2 separate regions of the Homo sapiens genome follow, and region 2 is linked to region 1. Evidence: promoter capture Hi-C in 16 types of primary human blood cells and fetal thymus (Javierre and others, 2016). All regions are on one chromosome and are shown on one strand. Each heading gives the region's core, a stretch centred on a gene start or on the middle of the fragment in contact. The rest is flanking DNA. Distances are from core to core; before and after follow the strand shown. Region 1 holds the start of ACTL7B (actin like 7B). Region 2 overlaps PTPN3 (protein tyrosine phosphatase non-receptor type 3).

The links. The method cuts DNA at HindIII sites, captures the fragments that hold promoters and counts their contacts. A CHiCAGO score of 5 or more calls a contact.
Region 2: a fragment that was not itself captured here is called in contact with the fragment with the promoter of ACTL7B in region 1 in 1 of 17 cell types (endothelial precursors); the score reaches 5.1 in endothelial precursors.

What each region holds. Positions count from the first base shown.
Region 1 is chr9:108,852,799-108,860,762 of GRCh38, forward strand. It overlaps ACTL7B (actin like 7B), which reads right to left and starts at 3,188. Exons shown (of 1, transcript NM_006686.4): 1 at 1,790-3,188. The coding sequence starts at 3,132. The coding sequence ends at 1,885. The HindIII fragment of the contact is 8,235 bases long and covers 1-6,933 here.
Region 2 is chr9:109,407,470-109,415,433 of GRCh38, forward strand. PTPN3 (protein tyrosine phosphatase non-receptor type 3) reads right to left here. Exons shown (of 26, transcript NM_002829.4): 15 at 2,760-2,946; 16 at 2,530-2,607; 17 at 852-908. Among named protein-coding and RNA genes, the nearest start is that of PTPN3, 87 kb to the right of the region's middle. RefSeq lists enhancers at 3,746-3,865, 4,386-4,485. The HindIII fragment of the contact is 1,219 bases long and covers 3,324-4,542 here.

The DNA of each region.
Region 1 (7,964 bases), core at 1,938-4,437:
ATGTCTATTGGCCACCTTCAGCCTCCAGGCCTCCAGTCTGCAACATCCCTCTATAGGAAAGAGCCCAGGTTCCATGCCTGCTGCCAACGCCCTGTTTGACCAGGGGTATTCAAACTCCAGGCTAGATGCCCAATTCTGGACAATGGGGAAGGACTAAAGAGCAGGGCCTTAGGTGATAATGACTATGTCTGGTTCTTGCCCAAGTCTGCAGCCCCCAGCACTGGGCCCAGGACAGAGGCAGCCTCATGGGGTGCCCCAAATCAGGACCCTTTGCTTAAGGTAAGAGGTGACTCAGGGATATTTAAGTCTCAGCCCATCCAAGACTATGCAGCTCATGGATGTCTGATCCCATAGATGGCACCAACTGGGTCATGAACTCCATTGGAAGGTGAGGGTAGGGAAGGGGGCAGGAACCCACTCTTCTAAGTAGGCAGTTAGTCACCAGCTGAAATCTCACAAGCCTCCACAGCCTCTCCCTCAGCCCCAAAGCCAATAAGTGGACACCATGCCCAGCAACTTCTCCACTTACAACATTCCAATGCATCACCACTACCTTCTCACCACCGTGAACACTTAGCTCAGACCTTGACTCCCTACCAATGTGGTTGTCCATTAGCTGTGTGTGATTGCCAAGGGTAGAGACTGTGTTCTGCTCATTTCTCAGTCCCCAGCACTGGGCCTGACCCACAGTACATGCATGGTAAGTGCTTTGGGTTGCTGACTAACCATTAAGAACCATGTTTATACCCTTATGGGAATAATCCTGATGTGGATCAGGAGACCTGGGCTCAACCACTGGCATTAAGCTGGCTCTCTCCTCTCTGGTCTCAGTTTACCTATCTCTCTTTTTTTTTTTTCTTTTTGGACATGGAGTCTTGCTCTGTTGCTCAGGCTGTAGTGCAATGACGCAACCTCAGCTCACTGCAACCTCCGCCTCCTGGGGTCAAATGATTCTCCCTGCTCAGCCTCCTGGGGAAGCTGGGATTACAGGTACCCACCACCATGTCCAGCTAATTTTTGTATTTTTAGTAGAGACAGGGTTTCACCATGTTAGCCAGGCTGGTCTCGAACTCCTGACCTTAGGTGATCCACCTGCCTCGGGTTCCCAGAGTGCTGGGATTACAGGTGTGAGCCACCGCACCCAGCCCAGTTTCCCCATCTCTATAGCCGGGAGAGGACCCGATTTCTAAAGGACCTTCTGGTTCCTCTGACATCCTCTGGAATCAGTGGCTCTGCTTTGTGACTCTGGAAAAATAGCTGCAATTTTGGCTGTGGTTGAAAGGGGTACGCCCACAGATGGGTTGAAATGGCACTTCACACTCTGGAGATGCACTGGCACAGCCTTAGGCTCCCATATTGAGGGTGGCAGGCACTAGGGGGAGGTTAGGGAACCTGGAGTGATCAGGCAGTGTTAAGGTTGGGAGCACTTGTGAACAGCAGAAACAGGAGACTGGAGTCGGACACCCAGCTGTGCATCTCCTCCAACCTACCGCTAGGTGACCCAAGCTAGTCCCTTCATCAGAGCCAACCCCCTTAGTTGAGCCAGCGATGAGGAGTGTCTTTGGATCAGGTTTTGAACCTGGAGGTACTAATAAAACAGGAGGCCACTTTCTAGGCCCTGAGATGATGTCACTATCATGAGGCAGGCAGAGGGGGTGGGATCAGTATGGTAGCCCCCTTCCTTACAGCCCCCACCTCCAGTGCAAAAGGTGCTGCCGCTTCTAAGCCCGACTCCCCCCTACCCTCTGCTATCAGATAGAAGCAAGAAACCCAGACTAGACAAGAGCCATTTCAGAGTAAACCTTTATGTGAAATTCTGTAAATGTGTATAGAGAGGCCTGTGGCCATCTGTGCTGGAGGCCTTGTCTGTGGAAATGCCGAGGCTCAGCACTTGCTGTAGATGGCCACGCTGCCCCGCTCCTCAAACTCTTCCTTGCTGACCCAGAGCTGTTGGAAGGCCTGCAGGGAGGCCAGGATGGAACCGCCGGTCCACACGGAGGTCTTCCTCTCAGGAGCGGCAGCCACTGCAGGGCTGTCCCCGGGGCAGAGGAGGCTCAGCTCCCTCTGGAAGCGCTCGGGGAAGCCATCCAGCATAGTGCAGCCGCCACACAGTAGCACGTTGGCGGCCATCTCCTCCTTGAAGCCCGTGTCCTGGCAGCGGCCCAGGCAGGCAGCTGTGAGCTCCGGGAGGCCCGGCTGGGTGCTGCCTGCCAGGGAGGGCTGGAAGAGCATCTCAGAGCAACGGAAGCGCTCCTGGCCAATAGTGATGAGTTTGCCGTCCGGGAGCTCGTAGTCCACGCGCAGCTCCTCCGGGACCAGGCCCAGCTCCTCCTCGGGCAGGAAGGCCGCATAGCAGCACTTCTTCTTGATGTGCTCTATGATGTGCAGGTGGTCGTCCGTGAATGCGTGGCCCGCCTCATTGAGCAGCTGCATCAGGTAGTTGGTGAGGTCACCCCCAGCGTAGTCGGCGCGGCTGGTCAGGCCCGGCAGCACGTCGCCCTCGGATATGGGCACCACGTGCGAGACGCCGTGCCCGCTCTCCACCACCAGCCCCGAGGTCTTGCCGTAGGAGTAGATGGACAGCAACGACTGGGACGTCACGTGCATGGCTGGGATGCCGAAGGTCTCAAACATGAGCTCCGCGTACTTCTCCCGGTTGCTGCTGGGGCTGAGCGGAGGGTCGGAGACCAGCACAGCGTGCTCCTCGGGGAGGATCTTCATGGCGGTGCGGAAGATGTACTCCCAGATGTCCTGCACGCAGTCCCAGTCCACCACGATGCCGTGCTTCAGCGGGTTCACCAGCTTGAGAGGCGCCTCCGTGTTGAGCAGCTCATGGCCCACTAAAGTCCACTTGCGGGTGTCGCCAGCGTCGGCCGCCTCGGGGCAGCGTTTGCCCACGGTGGAGGAGATGAAGTAGGTGGGCCTCGGCTCTCCCGCGTAGCCGCACTTGCAGTACTGGGAGCCCAGGTCGATGATGACCGCCTTGATCTTGTGCACCTTCCTGGGCTTCATCTTGAGCTGAGTGGCCGCACCTGTGTCCCGGAGGCTGGCGTCAGGGCCGGGCCGTGTTCCTGCCTCTCCAGGGTCACCCTGAGCCGTGCCCAGGGGCATGGGGCTGTTCCTTGTCGCCATCTGCCTCCCTTGCTCCCCTTCTCACATCCACAGCCTAGAGCCCCCTGGGGAGAAATGAGATCCCCCACCTCCAGCAGTGCCATGACAACCACCCGGGATTGTGATGTCACTCGGGGCTGGTCCATTCAGGCAGCAGGGGAGGGCCTGGCTTTGGTCGGTTCTTGGTGTGTCACCCCCACCTCTCTAACTCAAGTTTGCTCCCGGACAGAGCAGGTGGCCGGCAGTTTTAGAAATCCAAGCACACTAGGGTCTCAGAGGTTTCTGCTCAGCCCCCTTGCATTTCCATGCCTAACCTGTTCACTACTGGACACCTTTCCTCTTCTGCTTCTTGGTGGAGAGGGCCTATTTGAGCCCCTCCAGTAAGGCAGGCACTGTACTAGTTACTTCACTTATGTTGTTCTGCAGGTAGGCAGAGCTGAGGAAATGAGGCTCAGAATTCTAAGGACTTGCCCAAGAGCAAACAGCACTTGGGGTGTTTGTACCTTAACCCAAATTCATCAAACTCCAATGCACCAGGCCTCCTTAACCGCCCCAAGAGTTCTTTCCTCCCTTCACTCCACATTTACTGGAGTATATAGTAGGTCCCGCCCAGTGCAGCCTGCCAGTGATAGATGATTAAAAACCCAGGCCACCAGCAGTGCCCAGTCTAGACAAGAAAATGGAATGGGTGCCGATGGGTTTGCAGGAAGAAGTCTACTTGGAGAACTCATTTGAGACAGGCAGTCAGAAGGTGCTCTAGAGAGGAGGTGATGCTTAAGTTGAATCCTGGAAGAGGTGTAGGTATTTGTCAAGTAGTTAAGAGGAGGGGAAGACATCCCAGGCAGAGAGCACAGCTTGAGCAAAGGCTCAAATGGAGGCACGGTGAAGAACTTCCCACAGTCAAAGTGTTTGGAAAAACAGATGAAGCTAGAGAAGTCACAGAGCCAAATAGAAAGGGCATCAAATGGCAGGAGTAGGTTTAGACTAAACTGAGGAGAGCCAGGGAAGCTATGAAGACTTTAAGCAGGGGAATGATCAGATTTGCCCTCTAGAAAAATGTTAGAAAGGGCCGGGCGTGGTGGCTCATGCCTGTAATCCCACCAGCACTTTGGGAGGCTGAGGCAGGTGGATCATGAGGTCAGGAGTTCAAGACCAGCCTGGCCAAGATGGTGAAACCCCATCTCTACTAAAAATACAAAAATTAGCTGGGCATGGTGGCGGGTGCCTGTAATCCCAGCTACTTGGGGGGCTGAGGCAGAGAATTGCTTCAACCTGGGAGGCAAAGGTTGCAGTGAGCTGAGATCGCACCACTGCACTCCAGCCTGGGAGACAGAGTGAGACTCCATCTCAAAAAAAAAGAAAAGAAAAATAAAAATGTTAGAAAGATCTGCATTGGGCTGTAATGTAGAGAATGGATGGGAGGGGCAAGACTAGAAACTGAGACCCGAAACGAGGCCATTGGAGAACTTCTGATAAGACTTGAAGGTGGCCTGACCTAGGGCTGTGAGAGTGTGGAAACAAGGAAGAGCCTAGTTCTAGAGAAACTTAGAAAGTAGAATAGAATCCAATCTGTTTTTTCCCCAACCATCCCTCACTTTAATCCAAGCTCTTACTCTGACATTTCAGGGCTTCCCTCATGGGCTCCTGTGATGTGGGATGTGAGGCAGAGGGAAGGATGAATCGCTTACTTGTACCCGGGCAAAGAAAGATGGCCTGTCATCCAGAAAGGACAAATTCACGAGAGTGCCAGAGGGACCTGCAACTTAAGCTGCCCCCTCCCACTCCAAAAATCAAAAAGGCAGTTTAGGGCTTTGGTGGTGAAGAGTCAACAGAAAAAGGGGAAGAGCGGCAACTGGGCCTGAGGAAGTTTTCTGGGAGAATTAAGATGAGCAGAGGTGCCTGAGGAATTGATTAGGCAACATGCATGGGGGAAAAAGAGTTAAGAAATACTGCCATGGAGCATGTAAGAATGCTAATGAGGAATGTGTGGGGATTTTTGTTTGCCAAATTTTTGTTTGTTTGTTTGTTTCTGAGACAGAGTTTCGCTCTTTCGCCCAGTCTGGAGTGCAGTGGCGCGATCTCAGCTCACTGCAACCTCCGCCTTCCAGTTTCAAGCGATTCTCCTGCCTCAGCCTCCCCAGTAGCTGGGATTACAGGCACCTGCTACCACGCCTGGCTAATTTTTGTATTTTTGGTAGAGACGGGGTTTCACCATGTTGGCCAGGCTGACATTGAACTCCTGATCTCGTGATCCGCCCGCCTTGGCCTCCCAAAGTGCTGGGATTACAGGTGTGAGCCACCATGCCCAGCCCGCTGAATTGTTTCTTGGAACATGGCAGCATTCAACTATATTATTTGGGTAACAACTTTCTAAGGGTTATAATTATGAACATCATGACCCAGAAATGCCCTGTGGTGGGATCATGAAATCACAGAAGCTGAGGATTGGACCCTTCAGTTCCTTCTAGAACATTCCATCCAGTAGTCTGACATGGACAGCTCACCCTATTTTGGCCAGCCATGAGTGATAAACGTTTCGTCACACTGGATTGGCATGTGTACCTCTCTGAAGCCATTAAATGGTCTTGGGTCTACTCTTGAAGTTCTACGGGGCAAGCAAATTCTTCCACGACAACTCTTAGGCTATTTAAAGGCAGTATTCATGGACTGCCAGAGCCTACTTTTTATCCATTCCTTACAGAAAGGCAGTACAGAGCAGATGGAAGACTGAGGAACTGGATTCCGAAGACCTGGGTTCAAACATAGACTTATTATTTATAATCTGTATGACTTTGGGTAAACTACTTGAAATGTTGTTTGAATGTGATTACCATTTTGCTATGTCCCCTCGTCAACTTGACCCCTACCCACAGCCTCCAGGTCTCTGCCTTGAGCTGCTAAGTGGATGATGGTGACACACACACATACACACACACACACACACACACACACACACACTCACATTTGGGGTCTGCTGACTTAGAGATGCCCAAAGGTCACTAGGCTGTGGGACACTGGGCTGGAGCACATGGAAAGGGAAGCATCCGGATCCACATTTGCATGCTCAGTAGCACATCTGCCCCTGAAGACAGCTCCTCTCCCTTCCACCTCGGGGAAATGGACACAGTCTTGGGACCTGGGTGTCCACACTGGGATCTGAGCTGTGAGAAAGCAGCTCAAAGTGCCTGTTTGGCAAGGATCTTCTTTGTTGGGAGCTCCTGACTCAGGGGTTCTCCAGCATATTCAAGAGTTGGAAAGGCTGTGGTGGGCTCCAGTAATTTTTAAGAAAAACTCCAGGTGATTCATGAGAAGAAATGCCATGCTGGATTTTCTTTTTTTCCCTCCCATTGCTGCTAAAATTCCAGAGGCCTGGCTCACCTCTCCTCCAAAGGTCAAGGGTGGGCAGTGTCCCAAAACTGAAGCCAGGAGCCAGGATGCACCTCAGGCAGAAGTGTGTTCTTTAATCTCACCTTTCCATGTTCTCTCCCTCCACTATAGAAGAGGATCCCAGGGTTGCATTTGAAAAGGGGTCATCCCATGGTTTTTTTGGTCTTGAGCCAGAGGGCTAAAAGTAGGTGTGATCCCATTAGAAAATGTGGCCCAATATATTTTGAGCACTATAGGGTGCCTCTCCCAAGAGGGACCTCACTAGGGACCCCAGAGGGCCCACACAGACCTTAGCTGGTGACAATTATGGGGGGTGTGTGTGCTAGGCAGTGGAGGTTTGGGGCACGGTGTCCACAGTCTCTGCATTCTTCCATCATTACCACTAACCGTGTGATGACCCATAGAGGGAGAGAAGAGGCACAGAGGGTAACAGGAAGCTTAGGGGAAACAGGGTTTTTATTAGGAGCACCCAACATGTGAAACTCAGTGGTGAAGTAAAAGGAGGGCAAGTGTTTCATTGGCTTTTGCTCAGAGAATGTGAGGGGAATCCCTATGCTCAAGGACCTTACAGACTAGATAGAGTGACTGCCTTACACTAAAGCATCACCTCTTCCACACACAAATGCAGAAAGTGTGATGACAGATGACAGATGGGCAAGCCTGGGCAGCCCACGAAGAGCAAATGAGTCAGAGCATGTCAGGCTTGGAGTGTATTAGCAAAGAGGGAGGCACTGAACAGGTGAAAGGGTCCTCCAAAGGTGTCCACATCTTAATCCCTGGGACCTGTGACTATATTAACTTTCATGCCAAAAGGGATTCTGTGGATGTGATTAAATGAAGGAATCTGAGATGGGGAGAGTATCCTGTATGGCCTGGGTGGGGCCAATGTAATCACAAGGGTCCTTATATGGGGGATACAGGAGGGTCAAGGGCAGAGAAGCAGATGTGACAATGACAGCTCTAGTCTGAGAGTCTTCCAAGATGGAGGAAGGGACTATGAGCCAAGGAACACAGGTGGCCTCTAGGAGCTGGAGGCAAGAGGAAGTATTGTCTCCTACACCTCCAGAAGGAATACAGCCCTGAAAGAACCTTAATTGTAGCCCACTAAGAAGAATTACGAACTTCTGACCTCCAAAATAGTAAGATAATAACTGTGAATTGCTTTAAGCCACTAAATCCATGGTAATTTGTTACAGCAGAAACAGGAAGCTAATACAGGCTCTTCTAGGAGTCCAGGTTAGTGAAAAGGCACCAAGCAGCTATAGATTTCGCAACATTCAAGTAGGGTTTGGGAAGAAAAAAATGGAGGGTTTTAAATTACATATGCCTTTGGTTACCATATACAGCACTTTTGAAATAAAGTCAAACAATCTGAGTTGCCCACGCAAATCCCTGAACGGCAGAGGCAATTAAACTGTTTTTCAGGCAGCCAGGCATCAAAAGTACTTTCCTATTTTTCCTTTAAA
Region 2 (7,964 bases), core at 2,683-5,182, 560 kb after region 1:
GTTGTACACCTTGAGTATGCACAATAAAAAAATTAAACGAAAAAATTACTTGATATTATTTTAAAAACAATAAAATAAATTTATTTTATTTTTGAGACAGAGTCTCACTCTGTCGCTCAGGCTGGAGTACAGCGGCGTGATCTCAGCTCACTGCAACCTCTGCCTCCTGGGTTCAAGGAATTCTCCTGCCTCAGCCTCCTGAGTAGCTGGGATCACACCTGTGTGCCACCACACCCAGATAATTTTTGTATTTTTTGTAGAGATGGGTTTCACCCTGTTGGCCAGGCAGGTTGGTCTCAAACTCCTGGCCTCAAGTGATTCACCCTCCTCGGCCTCCCAAAGTGCTGGGATTACAGGTGTGAGCCACTATGCCTGGCCTAAAAACAATAAAATAAATTTGAAAGAAAAACAAAGCAAATGCTCTTCTTAGGAGGCCTACACAGATGACAAAAGGGGCACTGGTGGAAAGATGGTGAGAAGAGGCACAGGGCCCACGTGCCCACTTAGAGTGAGCAGAACAGCAGACTGCCTAAGTTTCCTTCTCTTGAAAAGGACTTCTCAAAATTGAATGCACACTAACCACTCAAGGCTCTTGTTAAAAATGCAGATTCCGGTTCAGCAGGCCTAAGCTGAGGCCAGAGATGCTGCATTTCTAATGAGGTCCCAGGTAACATGGGTGCTATGGCTTCAAAGACCACACTGAGCCGCAAGGTTATAGAAAACATGGTGATGTATATCTAAGCACATTCTTTGCTCTGGCAAAAAAAGAAACAGGACTCAGAAACAGAAACCTGTTAGAATTAGGGGGAAACAAACAAACACGAGGAATAACATGGAATGTATTTACTTACAGGTGACTCTGGGTTTATCCTTGATACCACAAGAGGCATCTTTTGATCCACTCCTCCCTGTAAACATTTTAAAATAAAAACAAAACAAAGTTTTTTAAGTTAAACAAACAAACAAACAAAAAAACGAGTAGCTCACAGCATCAACAACATGGAGGTACCAATAAATGTGAGTCTTTGGTACAGGGAGGCTTCAAACTTCACTATGACTGATTCGAATCACACGTCATTTCAGAAATATGGAACAAATTCCTGACCCCTCTGGATCCAGCGGGCTGACCAGGACTCTGTTCAGAAGCCTCCCTCTGCCATCCCCACAGTCCATGAACTAACAGATACACTCAGAGAGAAGCTCCTCCTTAAAAACGCAGATGCCCCCAGAGAGGGACTCCACAGCATGTCTTCGAGTGCTGCTAGAACAAACCTGCACGTTGTGCACATGTACCCTAGAACTTATAATAATTAAAAAAAAAAAAAAAATATATATATATATATATATATGGGCTTTATATATATATATGGGCTTTAATATATATATATATGGGCTTTATATATATATATATAGGGGCTTTCAGCAGAGGCGAGCGAGGCCTGGGAAGGGGGCACACCCTGTGAGCGCATCTGGCCTGTGAGCGCTGGTCCTCAACACAGCTGCTGGGGCAGATGAGGCTGTGCATGATGGCAGCTGGGGGGTAGGCGACCACCTGCCCTCACTTTGTCCTAGAGTAGGGATGAGTAAACGTTTTCTGTAAAGGGCCAGAGAGGCTTTGTGGGAGTGAGGGCTCTGATTCAACTGCTCAACTCTGCAGTCATTAACCCACCAGTAAACAAATGGCTGTGGCTGTTACCAAAAAAACTAGTTACAGAAACAGATGGGATTTGGCCTGTGGGTTTAGTTTGCAGATCCTGCTTAAAGGTGCCTGGAGGAGAGTGGTGGCCCTGCAGGTTGAACTTGAATTGTTTTTCTCTTATCAGCTTTAGCAATGCTGAGGGGTTCTCTTAATAGCATTCCTGAAGTGGGTAGATCTGTTTGCCAACTGTGTGCCCTCATTTCTGGGAACCTCAGTATTCATTTGCAAAATGGGTTTAAAAATACTGACCTTACCACTTGTTATCAGAACTTAAGAAGGTGCTATGAATCTAGTGGATAGCCAATGCCAGGCACAGAGCAGGCACTTGGCCTTCGGCAGCTGTTAAGGCCACATTAAAAAAAACCTCTCAATTCTAGGCTGGGTGCGGTGGTTCACGCCTGTAATCCCGGCACTTTGGGAGGCCAAAGTGAGTAGATTGCCAGGTGTTTGAGACCAGCTTGGACAACATGGTGAAACCCCATCTCTACAAAAAATATGAAAAAAATTAGCTGGGTATGGTGGTGCATCCCTATAGTCCCAGCTGAGGTGGGAGGATCACCTGAGCCTGGGGAGGTCAGCGCTGCAGTGAGCTGCGATCGTGCCACTGCACTCTAGGTTTGGGCGATAAAGTGAGTTTTTAAAAAAAAACAAAAAAAACCCCAAATATCTCAAACCAAACAAAAACAAAAAAAACCCCCAACTCTCAATTCTGAGGGTTGAACCAACTTCCTTATGTAGCTCAGGAATGCAGCACATTTGTAATGCAAATTAAAAACTCATTGAAAGATTGCTTCCCAGCACAAAACTTCCTTTATAAATACACAACATACCTTAAGATTAAATCCAAATTTTCCATCTTCATCTGGTGTGATACGGATCAAGACTAAGTAGCTGTCACCATTATCATTCTGGAAAACGGTTTGAAAGTGGTCATTTGCATCACATCTCTCTCCAGCAGTTGGTGATAAGATATTTTCATTTAGTTAGAGCTACTCAGCTGCCCACAAGAGGCCGGGAAGCCCTGGGTGTGTGGATCACCCGGCTGCCTGCGCTCGCTCACCTTGTCACAGTAGTACTGGCTGGCGTCCTCGGTGGAGCCCCCTTTGGTCACCCTGTGGAAGTCATCTAAGAGCTGCTGATCAACGCCGTCAGGTGAGCAGGAGCCTGGAGCATTTGAAGATGGAGACACAGAACTGGATGACTTCTGGGTCAGGTAGCTTTGTGCCGGATTGTTCTCGGATAAACTCCTTCATCATGGGGAAGGAGGAGATATTAATAACTGGGTTAATATTTTATTAGAGCAAACACTACTGACTGTAGGGGCCTGGCAGCTGGGGGCTGTATGTTTCCCTGGAACCTCAGCTGCATAGGTTGTCAGCGGGATTTGAGTACACCCAGGGCCCACTGACCACCCCTGACCGCATCTGGCCTAGACACTGTCACATGGTTTTGGGGAAAAGGGATAGGAGGCAGGGTGGATCTGGAAACTGCTGAAAACTTTGCTCCCTTCCCCGCTGCTTTAGAAGGGTGACAGGGAAATGTGTCCAGCTCCTCTGGTGGTTTCATTACTGAACCAGGCTCTGCCAGGCAAGCTCATGCAGATGCACAGCCCATCCCTTCTGAAAGCTTTTTTCCTTCTGTCTCACTTCTGCGGATGGTTCTGCTTCATAGGACTCTTGCCTCCTCAAAGGAAACAGGACTGTTGTTGTTGTGCGTTCAGGAGAATTTATATTATTCCTAGTTGGCATGATTTGCCTGTGACATCCATGAACTGCCACGCTGAGATCTTGTTACATTTTCCTCTATCGAATATAGTTTCTTCTGTATCGTGGAGCTGCACTGTCTAGTATGGTAGCCACTAGTTATATGTGGCTACTTAAATTTAAATAAATTAAGACAAGAAACCAGCCATACTTCACATGCTCACTAGCCATATGCGGCCAGTGGCTCCCGTATGAGACAGTGCAGTCAGAGAACATTTCACCACGGCAGGAAGTCCTGCTGGACAGCGCTGTCTTAGAGAGTTACAGATGATGAAAACGGAACAGAACTTTGTGGTCATTTGTTCTAACTCCCAGTTCACAGATGAAGAAGCTGAGGTCAGGAGAGGCTGAGTAACTTGCCCAGGGTCACATGGCTTTCCCCCGGCTTAGCAGACAGAAACCTGACCGATGTGCGTCCTAAGCCTTTCTTCCCTCTCCAGACCATGCAGAGCCCACTTCCAAGACCCCTATTTCTAACCCCTCAGAGTCACAGGGATTAACCATCCCTGCTGTCACTGTACAGGACAGGACCCTTGAGTCTCTGCATCACCCACACCAGCCCCTTCCGGAGCCACAGGCCCAGCACAGACACCTTACAGAGCTGATGACTATGGGGCTCTCCTACATTCTAAGACTCTGCCCCACCCTAACCTCATCCAAAGTGAAGTGAGGGGAGAAGCGCAGAGACCAAGTCATTCAGTGAAACCCAGACAAAAGACAGCTGCTACTGCCTCTTTCTTGACCTTCATTTCAAGCCCTTATCCATGGATTTTTTATGAAATTGGTGCTTCTCTTTCTCCTAGTGAGTTTAAATGAGCCTAATTTAAATATAAAATCTGTATCATAGTCACACAGAATGATTCATAATCACAATCTATTTGAATAAAATATTCAGTGACAGACCAATGGAGAAACACAGCGATACAGTAGGACAAGAGTCTGGCCTTATGGTGTCCAAGTGGCTGGTTGGGGGTAGGGTGTTATGGATGGGAAGGCATTTCAGAGACAGAGTATTTTGGAATTGAAGTTGTATACAAGTTTTCAGATTGAAAAAGCATGACTTTCACTTACGTAAAAGGAAGCTTTACAAAATTCCCCCCAAATACGGCATCTTTGCTGGGTTTCACTGTTTACAAGAGCATCACCCAGTGGCAGAAAGGGCAACTGCTTGGCAGTTACAAAACAAGTTAAAATGGTATTTCCAGTTCTCGTTCTGTCTGTCTCTGTCTCTGTCTCTACCTCTGTCTCCCTCTCTCTCCCTCCCTGCACCCCCCCAATCCATTTTTTTTTCTTTTGAGGTAGGGTAAAGCTCTGTTGCCCAGGCTGGAGTGCCATTACATGACCACAGCTCACTGCAGCCTCGATTTCCTGACTCAAGAGATCTTCCTATCTTGGTCTCTTGAGTAGCTGGGACCACAGGCATTCGCCATGTCCAACTAATTTTAATTTTTTTTTTTTTTTGAGTCAAAGTCTCGCTCTGTTGCTAGGCTGGAATGCAGTGGTGCAATCTCGGCTCACTGCAACCTCCGCCTCCCGGGTTCAAATGATTCTCCAACCTCAGCCTCCTGAGTAACTGGGACTACAGGTGCCCGCCACCACACCCGGCTAATTTTTTATATTTTTAGTAGAGACAGGGTTTCACCATGTTGGCCAAGATAGTCTCGATCTCTTGACCTCGTGATCCACCTGCCTCGGCCTCCCAAAGTGCTGGGATTACAGGTGTGAGCCACCATGCCCAGCCTTTTAAAAATTTTTTGTAGACACAGGGTCTCACTATGCTGCCTAGGCTGGTCTAGAACTCATGGTCTCAAGCAATCCTCCTGCACTGGCCTCCCTAAGCGCTGGGATTACAGGTGTGAGCCACCATCCCCAGCCCTATTTTTCTTTTTTGATTTAAAACTCAATGGTCTGTCTAAACTAGCCCATGGTACTAAATGACAACAGTACTACTACTATTACTATTGCTGCTAGTACTAATACTATATTCCAAGTCATTTTATGCCCTAACCTATTTTTTTTTTTTTTTGAGACAGAGTCTTGCCCTGTCGCCCAGGCTGGAGTGCAGTGGCACAGTCTCAGCTCATTGCAAGCTCAAGCTCCACCTGCCAGGTTCACACCATTCTCCTGCCTCAGTCTCCCATGTAGCTGGGACTACAAGCACCTGCCACCAATGCCTGGCTAATTTTTTTTTTTTTTGTATTTTTAGTAGAGATGGGGTTTCACCATGTTAGTCAGGATGGTCTCGATCTCTTGACCTTGTGATCTGCCCGCCTCGGCCTCCCAAAGTGCTGGGATTACAGGCATGAGCCACCGTGCCCGGCCTGCCCTAACCTATTTTCTAAGCAGGGTTGGAGGGGTTACTCTTAGTCATTTATTTCAACAAATGGCTGATTTTTGGCCTGCTCAACTGTGTACACAGGTGCTCTGTAGGGCGCGGTGATATTCTGTTCAGTGTGCAAGATGGACAGACAGACGAGGAAGAGGACATCAAATGAGGAGATGCAATGAGTAAGTGGCAGCTGGCCACAGCACAGGGTGGCCAGGGGTGAAGGCACCAAAGCCCTAGTGCCTCCTCTGTCGCTGGGCAGAATGCAGTGCGGCTGAGGAGCGCAGGGGAGTTGCCCCATGAATTCCACAAGTGGAGTGAAGAAAGGGGCAGGATGAGGGATGCAAGAAGATGGTGAGGATGGGATGGAGCCAATGACAAGGGGGAGGAAGGAGCAGAAGAGGTTTGTCCCTGAGGCAGGACGGGGAAGACACCATGGAAGAGCCAGTGTGGGACTGACCACATCCTGGTTCTTAGGGAGAAAGGGGCAGAGACAGAGAAATGTGAGACACAGACTGACCATCAGGCAGACAAACAAGTATTCACCCTCCAGAAAACACATGCTTCTGAACTGTAAAGGCAGCAGGCATCAGAAAGAAACACTCCCATGAAAGAGACACTCCCGCACGAAGCTCTCCCTAAACCCTAGAAAATTAAAGACCTCCCCGCCCCGCCGCCTGTGAAAGGAGGCAAAGTCCTGCTCTCAAATTGTGGTGTGATGGAACAGGGGCCCTGTTTTGGGAGCTTCTCAAGGTCAGGAGACCCTAGTGCTCTTTCTGTTCCTCTCCTAGTACTCGGAACACAGGACCAGGCACACAGGGAGTACTCAACTGAAATGCTGAGTGAATGAAGAATAAAGCCTCTTGGCAAGGTACCAAGAGGATCACCCGAGGTGATTGGGTGAGTTACTCTAAAAGAGCAAGGAATTTACTCAGGAATCTGGAAGCTCAGGTGCAAAGTGAAGGCGAGTTAAATGGTTCTCATCTGCAAGATCAGAGCTTCTGAGAATGTGCTGTGCACAGGAACCAGCTGGGGTCCTGCTGAATGCAGAGTATGATTCGGCAGGCCTGTGTGGGTCTGAGATTCTGCATTCCGACCAGCTCTCAGGTGCTGCAGCTGCTGGCCTGTGGCCACAGCTGGAATAGCACGGCGCTAGAGGAACTCATACCAGTTCACCCAGAGGGCACAGTTTCTTCTGAATAAAATTCCTGGAGAAATTTCCCACATGGCTCCTCACATAAGGGTCCTTGAGTAACAGAAAGAAGACTGTCTTCCAATACACATTTTTATGATGTGGAGACAGTCACCACAGGAAACAGCTCATCTGGGGCTGTAATAAATGCCAAGGGCACAAGATCAAAGTGGCAGAGGGGATATGGTTCAGGTATGGTGCTTTATGAGCTCACAGTCTTTCCTGCTGGAACAACAGATCATGAATCTGTCTAGGCTTCCCCTATAGATATCAGACACCTCACTGGCAAGAAAGCACTTGCTAAACCTCGGTCAATTCATCCCTGAATTCTCTGAGGAGAATTTCTCATTGACAGATGCCCTGCAGGGGCACCTACCACATAGTCCTGCTCACAGGTGACAGTTACCAAACTTGTCAAAGTAAATATGTTTGAGTTCTTGGGGTACAGATAAATATGGTGTGATGTTGCTCATGTGATATGGACACATGATGTGGAAGTGGCAGAGGGGGCATCCCATTGTGAAAACTTAGGAGTTTGTATCTCGGGGCCCCATCTAGTTTCATCTAACCATTTGTCCGTCTGTCCGTCCGTCCGTCCGTCCATCCGTCCATCCGTCCGTCCATCCAACCATCCATCCATCCATCCATCCATCCATCCATCCATCCATCCATCCATCCAAATAGTCACTGAATGTCTATTAAATGCCAAATAACCATGTCAGGTTTTAAGGAAGGAGAGGTGAATAGGGCACTATCCCTGCCCTCAAAGAATTCACTGTCCAAAGGAGAAGAAATACAATTAACCAAGTAATAATATTATCATGTTACAGTGGAGATGCTCAGATGTCTAGGGTACTGTGTAAGGCCAGGAGAGGCTTCCTGGAGCAGGTGCACTTGAGCTTGAGTTTGAAAGATGAATTAATAGGAGTTTGAACAGGTAGTCAAGTGGGAAAAAAGGCATTCTGGCAAAACACTGATAATAAC